Regions from separate parts of the Homo sapiens genome. Here all the other regions are linked to region 1. The links are contacts of gene promoters, found by promoter capture Hi-C in blood cells and fetal thymus (Javierre and others, 2016). All regions are on one chromosome and are shown on one strand. Each heading gives the region's core, a stretch centred on a gene start or on the middle of the fragment in contact. The rest is flanking DNA. Distances are from core to core; before and after follow the strand shown. Region 1 holds the start of SLC71A1 (solute carrier family 71 member 1). Region 2 overlaps CDC14A (cell division cycle 14A). Region 3 overlaps CDC14A (cell division cycle 14A).

The links. Contacts are between HindIII fragments. The CHiCAGO score rates a contact against its expected background, and 5 or more counts as called.
Region 2: a fragment that was not itself captured here is called in contact with the fragment with the promoter of SLC71A1 in region 1 in 1 of 17 cell types (erythroblasts); the score reaches 6.9 in erythroblasts.
Region 3: a fragment that was not itself captured here is called in contact with the fragment with the promoter of SLC71A1 in region 1 in 2 of 17 cell types (erythroblasts and fetal thymus); the score reaches 7.0 in erythroblasts.

What each region holds. Positions count from the first base shown.
Region 1 is chr1:100,036,401-100,039,561 of GRCh38, reverse strand. SLC71A1 (solute carrier family 71 member 1) reads right to left here and starts at 1,467. Exons shown (of 12, transcript NM_033055.3): 1 at 1,246-1,467. The coding sequence starts at 1,329. It overlaps LOC124904230 (a long non-coding RNA gene), which reads left to right and starts at 1,554. Exons shown (of 7, transcript XR_007066251.1): 1 at 1,554-1,832. RefSeq lists silencers at 841-1,030, 1,491-1,670 and enhancers at 1,151-1,430, 1,393-1,995. The HindIII fragment of the contact is 6,938 bases long and covers 1-2,785 here.
Region 2 is chr1:100,460,724-100,463,884 of GRCh38, reverse strand. It overlaps CDC14A (cell division cycle 14A), which reads right to left. Exons shown (of 16, transcript NM_003672.4): 9 at 1,004-1,234. Among named protein-coding and RNA genes, the nearest start is that of GPR88, 76 kb to the left of the region's middle. RefSeq lists an enhancer at 1,116-1,737. The HindIII fragment of the contact is 301 bases long and covers 1,338-1,638 here.
Region 3 is chr1:100,440,796-100,443,956 of GRCh38, reverse strand. It overlaps CDC14A (cell division cycle 14A), which reads right to left. Exons shown (of 16, transcript NM_003672.4): 7 at 961-1,023. Among named protein-coding and RNA genes, the nearest start is that of CDC14A, 90 kb to the right of the region's middle. The HindIII fragment of the contact is 5,917 bases long and covers 1-3,161 here.

The DNA of each region.
Region 1 (3,161 bases), core at 218-2,717:
GAACTTGAGGAATTTGTTTCTTTTTTTCAATAAATGTCAAAGCTATAACATATAATAAACGTTAAACTAAAAATATATTCCAAAGTCATTACATATGTCTCAAGTTTTCTAAACTTTGGCATATTGACTGGGCCGTGTTCTGAAATGTCATAAAATTTTGTCACGTTTTTCAACTGAATTCAGCAAATCCTCAATGGTGGCCTACTTACACATTTACTACTGTGCTAGCAGTTGATCGCGGCTCCAATAAGATATAAACAGAAATGGAATTAATGGTACAATTTCTGCACACTTCAGGTAAGTGAAACATATATATCACCTTTCCATTCTATTTCAGAACGCGGTATCAGCGGATGCAACAAAGACCACACAGTGTAGCAACGGAGAAATGTTAGCATAAAACAGTTTTGTTTTGTTTTGTTTTTCAATTAAAAATCCTACGTCCCCAGCTGGTTAACTACACACTGCATAAAGTTTACTGTGATGACAACTGTTTCTAAAAAGCAAACCTTTCTTCCCTTCAAAGTGTCCTCCTCCGATCCTTAGGCCATGACTGATTCTAATACTTTTGATCTTAAGACACACAGTGATGACTTTTCTTTGAAAACTAGCAGGTTCGAATGTAGGCCCCAGGTGTCTGCCGTCATGCTTCCGACTCCGGGAAGTGAGGGAAGCCCATCTCCGGTCAGGGTTTACTGTAAGCAGCCCAGAGCCGGAGCACCGACGCAGAGAGACGTGGAAACAGAAAGCGAACGTACTACGGGGCCGCAGCGGGATCCCCGCGCCAGACGCCACCCCGTTAGCAACATATGGGAGAGCAGGGATGGTTCCCAGCCCCTTGACAAGCGCGGCGACGGCTCCGCGGGGCCTGGCGGCGAAGGCGAGGCGAGGCTGCGGCGACGAGGGGCGCGGCGGGCGGGCCGCCGGGGGAGCCCCGCACATTCCTCCCCGCGGCGGAGGCGCACGTGGGGTTCGAGGCCGCAGGGCCTGCAGAGGCGGCCAGAGCAGAGGGCGGCAGGTGCGGGAAAGAAAGAGGACGGGCCCCGGAGGCCGCAAGCCCGAGCAGCGGAGGACGATTCCCGGAGCGGCGGCATGCGGGTCCGCGACCCCGAGGCACCGGCAGCTCGGACAGGGTGGGGGAAGGGAGGGAGGCACCGGGACGCCTAGAGACGGCAGTGTGGGGGTCTGAAGGAGAGACCGGATGGGGGCCCCGAGGGACGCTCGCCGGCGCGGAACTCAGCTCACCGTGCCTCCGTCCTTAATGATGATCTTCTTGGCCAGCATGATACTGCGGTTCGCGGCCCGTTTCTTCTTCTTCCCCTGGGTCATTTTACCATCCTCGATTCCTGGCGCTGCTGCAGCCACTCCCGGGGCGGCAGGCCCCAGCAGCTAGTGCCGTCCCACCACTACTGCCGGGCCGAGCCGCTCTGGGCGCCCGCCGCCATCTTGAGGGCCCGGCCTGCCTCCGGCGGCGCGTCACAATCGTGCGATCAGCCGACGAGCGGGCCCCGCCCCTCCCGCGTGATACCGCCCCGCCCGCTCGCCGCCAGCCCACTCTACAGTAGCCGCGCGGCCAGGGTAACCGCGGGCTCGCGTGGGTGCTGCTGGCTACCTGTACAACTTCGTGCTCCGGCGTCACCAGCTAGCTAAATCCTCGCAACGGTTCTGGGCGATAGGGGCCGTTTTTGTCCCCCTTCTTCAGCAGATGAGGGAATTTGTTTCAAAAAGTTGTTACCTGCTCACGGAAACAGACGTCCTAAGCTATTAACACAATCTCCAGCTGTGTTCTAACCAAGACAGGAACCGAAGGGAACAGTAAAAAATCATTTTCCGTAAGTAATGGGTAACTTAAGAGATAATGTAGTGTTTCAGAAACAGTCTTGTCCTTTTGGTGTTCAGGGACCCCCGCTAGAACTCAGCTGGCTCACGCTTGTTTACCTCCCTAGACCCAGGACCTTTTTTATTCCCTGCCAAAAAAAATACCTTACCTGACCGATGTCACCCTTTGTGGCCCTCTACGTTTTTACTGTATTGTTTAAAAATAAATTTGATGGGAACATTGCTAGAAAGGGCAATTTACACAAGTGGAAGTGGACTTTAAAGTATCACAATGTTAAAATTAGATATTGATAACTACCGTGTTGTATAATAGAATATCCTTTTCCTTAAGAGAAAAACACGAGGGATAGGGATACACCGCATGCTCCCTACTCTCAGATGGTTAGGGAGTAACATGTATGTGTATGTATATGTAGGTGGGGAAAAGAGAGGGACAAAGCAAAATGGCGAATGTTTAAAAGTACTGAAACTAGGTATGGTAGTTCTAAGATATGTTCACAGATTCAATGATATTCCTCCCTGGAAGAGGTGGACTCTAATTCCCCTCCCCTTGAGTGTAGACTAGGCTTAGTGACTCTTGATAGATCAAAACAGAAGTGACAGTATTGACTTCAGAGGCTAGGTCATAAAAGGCACTGCATCTTCCTTTGCGGGTCTCTTTTTCATTCATTTTGGGGCTTGGAGCCTGGGGAAGCCTGCTTCCGTGTTTTCAGGACACTCAAGCAGCCTATGGAGAGATCCAGTTGTCCAGGAACTGTTTGTAGCCTCCTACCAAATGCCACGGAGTGAGTCACTTTGGAAGTAGATCCTCCAACCTTGGTCAAGCCTTTGGCTGACTACAACTTCATGAGAGACCCAGAGGTAGGACCACCTAGCTTAGCCACTCCTGGAATCCTGACTCAGAAACAGTGTAAGATGAAAAGTACTTGGTGTAAGCCACTAAGCTTTGGGGTTATTTGTTACACAGCTATAAATAACTAATATATAGGGTAAAAGGAAAAACAGTAAATGAATGTATGAGTTCTTTGTACTGTTTTTGCAACTTTTCTGTAAGTTTGAAATTATTTCCAAATAAAATGTTAAAAAGTAAATTTGATTGAATTTCCTTTTCCTTGTATTTTCATACTGACTAAAAATGGAAAAAAAAACTAATTTCCATGGAAGGGAGAAGAAAAGCAATTTATAGCCTGATAGATACTTCTAATTATATTTTCCAATCAATAAGTATATTCATTATACTTGTTTTGAAACATATATTCTCATTTTGAAACTTTTTTTATTATTTATTTTTTGAGACAGAGTTTTGCTCTTGTTGCCCAGGC
Region 2 (3,161 bases), core at 239-2,738, 420 kb before region 1:
AGCTGCACATGAGGAACTCGAGGCTCCAGCCCAGGGCGGCCCTAGTGATTTCTCCTCGCTGAAATCAAAGACCCAGTAAAATATCTGGAATATTTCCAGTATTATCCATACCGAAAGATCTGGAATGGAGTGGATTTTAAGCCTCCTCGAAGTCAAACAAGCTTAGAGCAAATGGCATGTCATATTTTCTGAGTAGCTGACATGGGGTTGCCAGATAAAATACAGAATGCATGTTCCCTGCAATATTTGGGACATATTTATACTTTTTGTTTTAAAAGTATTCATTGTTTATCTAACTTTCAAATTTAATTAGGCAGCCTGTATTTTTATTTGCTAAATCTGGCAATCCTAAACCTTCTATAGTCTGAACAATTCCTGCCCCAAAGTATCCACCCCCAGAGATCAGAGATTTTTGCAAAACAAACTCTTTAAGTTTATTCCATGAGGCAGCATCACATCAGCAGCATTGTAAGCTAGCGGATTGCCCCTAGCAACAGGCATGGAAGACGCTCTGCTCCATGAAGCCAAAGACTAGGAGGGGAGGGAAAAGCAGAGACTGGAATGGGGGTCCAGATAACTGGGTCATAAAACAGAACCACGACAGTGCAAGAGGATGGAGAAGAGATGGGCAATTCTGAAAAAAAACAAAGGAGAGAGGAAAACTAACAACCCTTGTCTCTTGAGAATTTTACCTGTTTAAAGGTGTTCCTGCAGCCTAAAGACACTGCTACTGTGTTTCCCCTCATTGTGGCACGTGGGCCTGGAAAGGTAAGGTCTGAAAAACTGGCATATCAAGAAAGCCACACCACCACCAATTGTCCACACCCAAGCAATCGTTTCTTTAAGAAGGGGTTATTAAAATGAGTTTGTGTCCCAGTTGTCTGAAATTTAAAACCTCATTGTTTTTCTAAGACACTAAACAGGTTTTGTTTTATGTTATTTGCTCTTCCTTGGCCCGCCCCTTCGATAAGCACAGCCACCACCACCGAGGCCTTGCACACACCTTTGCAGTGAACGGCGATGGCCCCTTCGGTGTTCTCACAGATGTTCAGGAACCTTCGCACGATGTTGTCACTGGGTGTGCTGCCATCTATGAAGAAGAGGTCATAGTGCTCGAAGCCAGCGTCTGTGAAGCGCTTTGCCTCATAAATCTTTTTGTTTAGCCTCACAACTGCAGTCACATTATGCTTTTTGAAATAAGGAAAGTAGGCTTCAGGGGCGTGAAGAGGATAACCTAAAGGAACAAAGGAGCAGTAAGCAAAAGGCATGCATTTCATCTTCCACAACCCAGAAATACAAAACTCTCAACAATGAAGTGTATAAATCTCAACAAAGCTTGGGAGGAAAGTGTGTTGTGTGAGAGAAGAGGTCACAGCAAGCTCCTACAAGCATCAATCTGCATAACTGTAAGCACCACAGGAGGTTAAAAAGAAAACTTCTGTAAGTACTGAAAATACATCATTAAAGTTCAAAATCTCAACCTCTAGATTCGAATCCTGGGAGCATACTCTTCCCACTCCCAAGACAAAAGCATTCTTGAAGTAATCAAATGTGCATAACAGACCTAGAATGGTGACTTTATTCTCTCTTGAGCTTTATTCTCTACTTGACAAACAGTTTTCAACTACAGCTGAAGCTTTTTTGCCATATGTATAGTTTTAATTTGTAGTACAATGCTCCCCAGAAGCAATTATTATTAAGCACCTACTATGTACAAGTCACAATTGCGTATCATTTCAAATTCTCAAAACCATCTCTTAAGTATGGCTAATTCCATTTAACAGATTAAGAAACTAAAAGAGGGGGTGTTGGGAGGATATTGGTCAAAGAAAACAAAATTTCAGTTAGAAAGGAGTATGTCCCAGAGATCTATTGTACAACATAGTGACTATAATAACAATGTATTATATACTTTAAAGTCATTTAGAAAGTAAAATTTAAGTCTTCTCACCACAAAAAATGATAAATATGTGAATACTTAAGTAAGACTTGACTTAACCATTCTACGATGTATACATATTTCAAAAGTTGTTGTACACCATAAATATATAATTTTTATCAATTAAAATATAAATTTTTTTAGTTAAAAATAAACAATAACTTTTGTGGACACTTCCTTTTTTTGAGGGAGGAAGATGCTCCACCTTTAAATCCCCTTTTATTTTTGAGTGGCTCCACCATCATGTGAGTATTCCTGGGAGCTACACAGTCAGCTGGGTTACAGACCTAGCCTTAGCTAATCAGCCAAGGCAACCACTGGGGGCTTTGGCCTTTGCAGGCCTTGCAATGGCAGCTCCAAAAGTTCAGGGGACTAAGTTCCCAGCACACTGATGGCCACATCTGTAACCCATTCAGAATTCACTGAACCCTAACATACCAGCTGAGTGCAATTATCTCAGTTGGAACCCATTCATGATGGGAGGTTCCAGGGGTGGCGGCAGCCAGCAAAGTGAACCAGACTGTTTCCACGCTGTGTGCTTGGCTGTATTTCTTGCTGCCTTGGATCCCTGTTATGCTAGTCAGCTCTCAGCTCCAAGCCGACTCTTATGCTCTGTGACACTGGGGCTGGAGTCCATATACTACGCCCTACATTTCCCAGACTACCTTTCTATCTGGCTTCCTATTGGTTGTAAAAATGGGAGGCACTAAACCTCAACCTGAGGAGGAGGAAGGGAATTCTTCCTGTCCTCCTGGCAGCATCACTTCAGCAGCAGAAAACAGGAGCAGGTTCTGCTAACTCCACTTTTGTCCCTTTTGTCCCCCCAGCCTTAAAGGTACTAGCTGTTTTCTCCAACATATTCTGGTTTCTTCAGTGTTGCCTTTTTACTTTTTAGTCTTCTTTGAAATAAACTCCTTGTATTAAATGCTTTATGTTTGAAATGCCTAGTGTGGTTCCCATTTTCCCACTTGGGTCCTGTTCATCTTCTAAGCCTAGTTCTCCAGCCTTTTCTTAAAGTCTATGAGCTACCCAACATATTCCAAAAACTGCCTTTTACCAGAGTTGGACAGCCATAACTGGTACACTTGGCCAGGTCACACAAAGGATGAAGACAGAATTGGAAGGCAGGACCAATTAATCCACAGCTCAGATATGTGATTTTCACAGGCTATGTTGCTTTTGAGCAAACAGGTAAAACAGAGCTTATTTAAAATCTTCTGTG
Region 3 (3,161 bases), core at 379-2,878, 400 kb before region 1:
AATTGTATTACTCCTCTGGGGAAACCCAACGGATGAGTTCACCTTCCGAGAATGTTGAACCTACTCACATTGTACAGGCTTCTCATCTTTCAGAAAAAGTTAATGACTTCTAGACTCCTCCTTATCCTACTCTGCTTCAACATCTCCTTACAGCGCAAACCAGCTTGGAGATAGCCTTTGCCTGCATTTTGAGCAGTCAAGACATTAATCAAAAGTCTTGTAATGATGCCATGGGGAAAAAAAAATTCAGTGAACTTTTAGAACTAAGTAAATTCAGCCATATTTCAAAATAAAATTTATACAACCAAAAATATTATAAGGGGGCTTGGCATGGTGGCTCATGCCTGTAATCCCAGCACTTTGGGAGGCCGAGGCAAGAGGATCACTTGAGCTCAGGAGTTCAAGACCAGCCTGGGCAACATGGTGAAATCCTGTCTTTAAAAAAAAAAAAAAATTAGCCAGACATGGTGGCATGCACCTGTAATTCCAGCTGCTTGGGAGGCTGAGGTGGGAGGATAGCTTGAGCCTGGGGAGGCAGAGGTTGCAGTGATCCGAGATTGTGCCACTGCATTTCAGCCTGGACAAAAGAGCTAGACACCGCCTCAAAAATAAATAAATAAAAGGTACAAATTCAGTTTTATTTTAAATAAAACCTGATTTCTAAAATAAAAGTAACATAATTTTACTACCCTACTAGATTTTTCTTATAAACTAAAGGTGCAAAGTGATTGTATATAAATGAGAGAATATATATAGATATGTTGTTTTTCCAAAATAAAATTTTGGTGACTCCTGATTCAAAGGAAATAACCAAGGCTGAAAGGACAAAACTGACCACTATGGAAAACTCCAGAATGCTTTTATTTAGCACCCACTCGATTTGCAATACATGAGTGTGACAGGGGGAAAAAATTAATCAACATGAAATTATGTTTTGTAAAAAAAATTAAATGTACAAACCTCATAATGTTCATATTCATCCACATCAAATGTCTCAAAGTCAAAAAATCCATGTTGTAATCCCTAAAAGCAGAATTTGAATTAGTTTTTCCATGCTAAATTGATAAACTCTACTCATCATTTCTGGAACTCCTACTTACAGAAATGATCCTCACTAATCTGAAGAGACAGCTTGAAACCTTTGATGTTTAATGCATATCTAGAAATCTTTTTATAAAACTGGTTATATTGCATTAAGACTGTCTTACTGGAACTAAAAAAACACTTAGAATAACATGAAAAAGCCCCACAAAAGATGCCTTGATTTCTAATTTACATCAGTTTTGTATGTAAAATTATATGTATACAAAATGAAATAAAACAAATTTATAGTTAGAACCTGTTGGGAACTAGACCTAACTATGACAGAATAGATCATAGTGATTAACTTCTTTGTTAGGAGAAGAAAAATCAATTATTCTTATGAGTTTTTGTCTTCCTTTTATCATAGGGAGATATTTAGCCCCCCAAAAAAACCCTGCATCTTTTACTGTTTTTTCTTCCTTAATATTTCTACTTAATAGGTCCTTAATAATATTTGATGAGAGAATATATATATTTATATATAATATATAGTATATATTTATATATACTATATATAATATAGTATATTTATATATAATACATAATATAGTATATTTATATATACAATACATAATATATATGTAATATTTCTTAATATTTCTACTTAATAGGCCCTTATTTGTTCCTAAAACTCTACCTTGGGAGAATCTGTTTCATGAGATAGTTTCTGACAAAGTAGAATTATACTTGACTGCTCTTACAATTTAAAAAAAAAAACATATTTTTATCACAAAGTAAAAGTCATACTCAGTTTTGTAAACAATGACTTAGAACTTTTAAAAACTATCCAGCTAGCTCAGATCTAATATTTTAAAGAGAACAGAATCTTTTATTTTATAAATCATGAAGCTATACAGATTACAACAGAATACAAAACCACAGGTACATTTAAAAGTTACATGATCAAGTCATTAAAAATAGAAAAAGAAACTAGCAAGCCAAGCTCCAGTACATCTATCAGTGTTTTTTCAAAACACAGAACATGCGCCATCAGCATCAGAAACACTTAGGGTAATTCATATGAAAGAAGCAGACTCCTGGGCCCCACCCCAGAACTATCAAATCATATTTGCTGTGGTTGGGGCCCAGGATCACCATTTTCAGCATAGCTTCCCAGGTGATTCTTAGAAATGCAAAATTCTGATAACACTGGTTTAAACAACCCCTACAGAATAAGCAGAACAAATTATTTAAATTAGTCCATTCTAAAAAAAAAAAAAAAACTGAGTTCATCCATATGCACCTTTCCAGACAAAAAAGTGAGAAAAATATACAAACTCTCTGAAGGATTCACTTTTTTTTCCTCTGTATTTTCAAAGGGTTTGCTTATATCCATGTATAGTAGTTCACATAACATGGAATATAAACTATACTTATGACAATGCCAATACATTAAAATCAGAGAAATGTGCTCCCTAAAAAGGCAAAAATGTGGCCATACTCTGTATAGGTTCTTGGAATGGTACTACTCGTTGCCACACAAAAATAGCCCAGAATATGGTGCCTTATGTAAGAGAATGAACTTACAGGAAATGTCTCAGGTGCTTAAAGACATGCTGCACAATCTATCAGATCCTCCAAAATCTCATTTGTCTTTGAGTTAACCCCAACATTTGATGAAACAAGTTTACATACCTTTCCTCTACAACAGGAAGGATGCCACAACTTTCTATACTGAGTTACTAATTACCATAATTACAGGCAGCGATATTCCAGTGTGAACTTTCTAAATTTTTTAAGTGTTATAAAACAAATGGCCTGTAGCAGATGGTAGAAAAGGCAAAATAATAATAGTGACGATAAATAAATTATTTTTTCCCTCAGGCATATTTTCCAAATGCTATAATCAACTGTTATATGTTGGGTAACGTCTCCATAGAAGCTCTTAACTGGCATTACTGGAAATGCACCTTGGTAATATTGTTGCAAGAGTGGGCTAGAGTATCTCTGTAGTTGTTTAAGTAGAAAGAAAAAGATTTGAAAACCATTTTAAAGTTTGATAGGGTTTAAATTCATTTTAAATTAAATAGAAACAACCATGTATAAAACAGGTAGCACATTTATCACACCAATTTTCT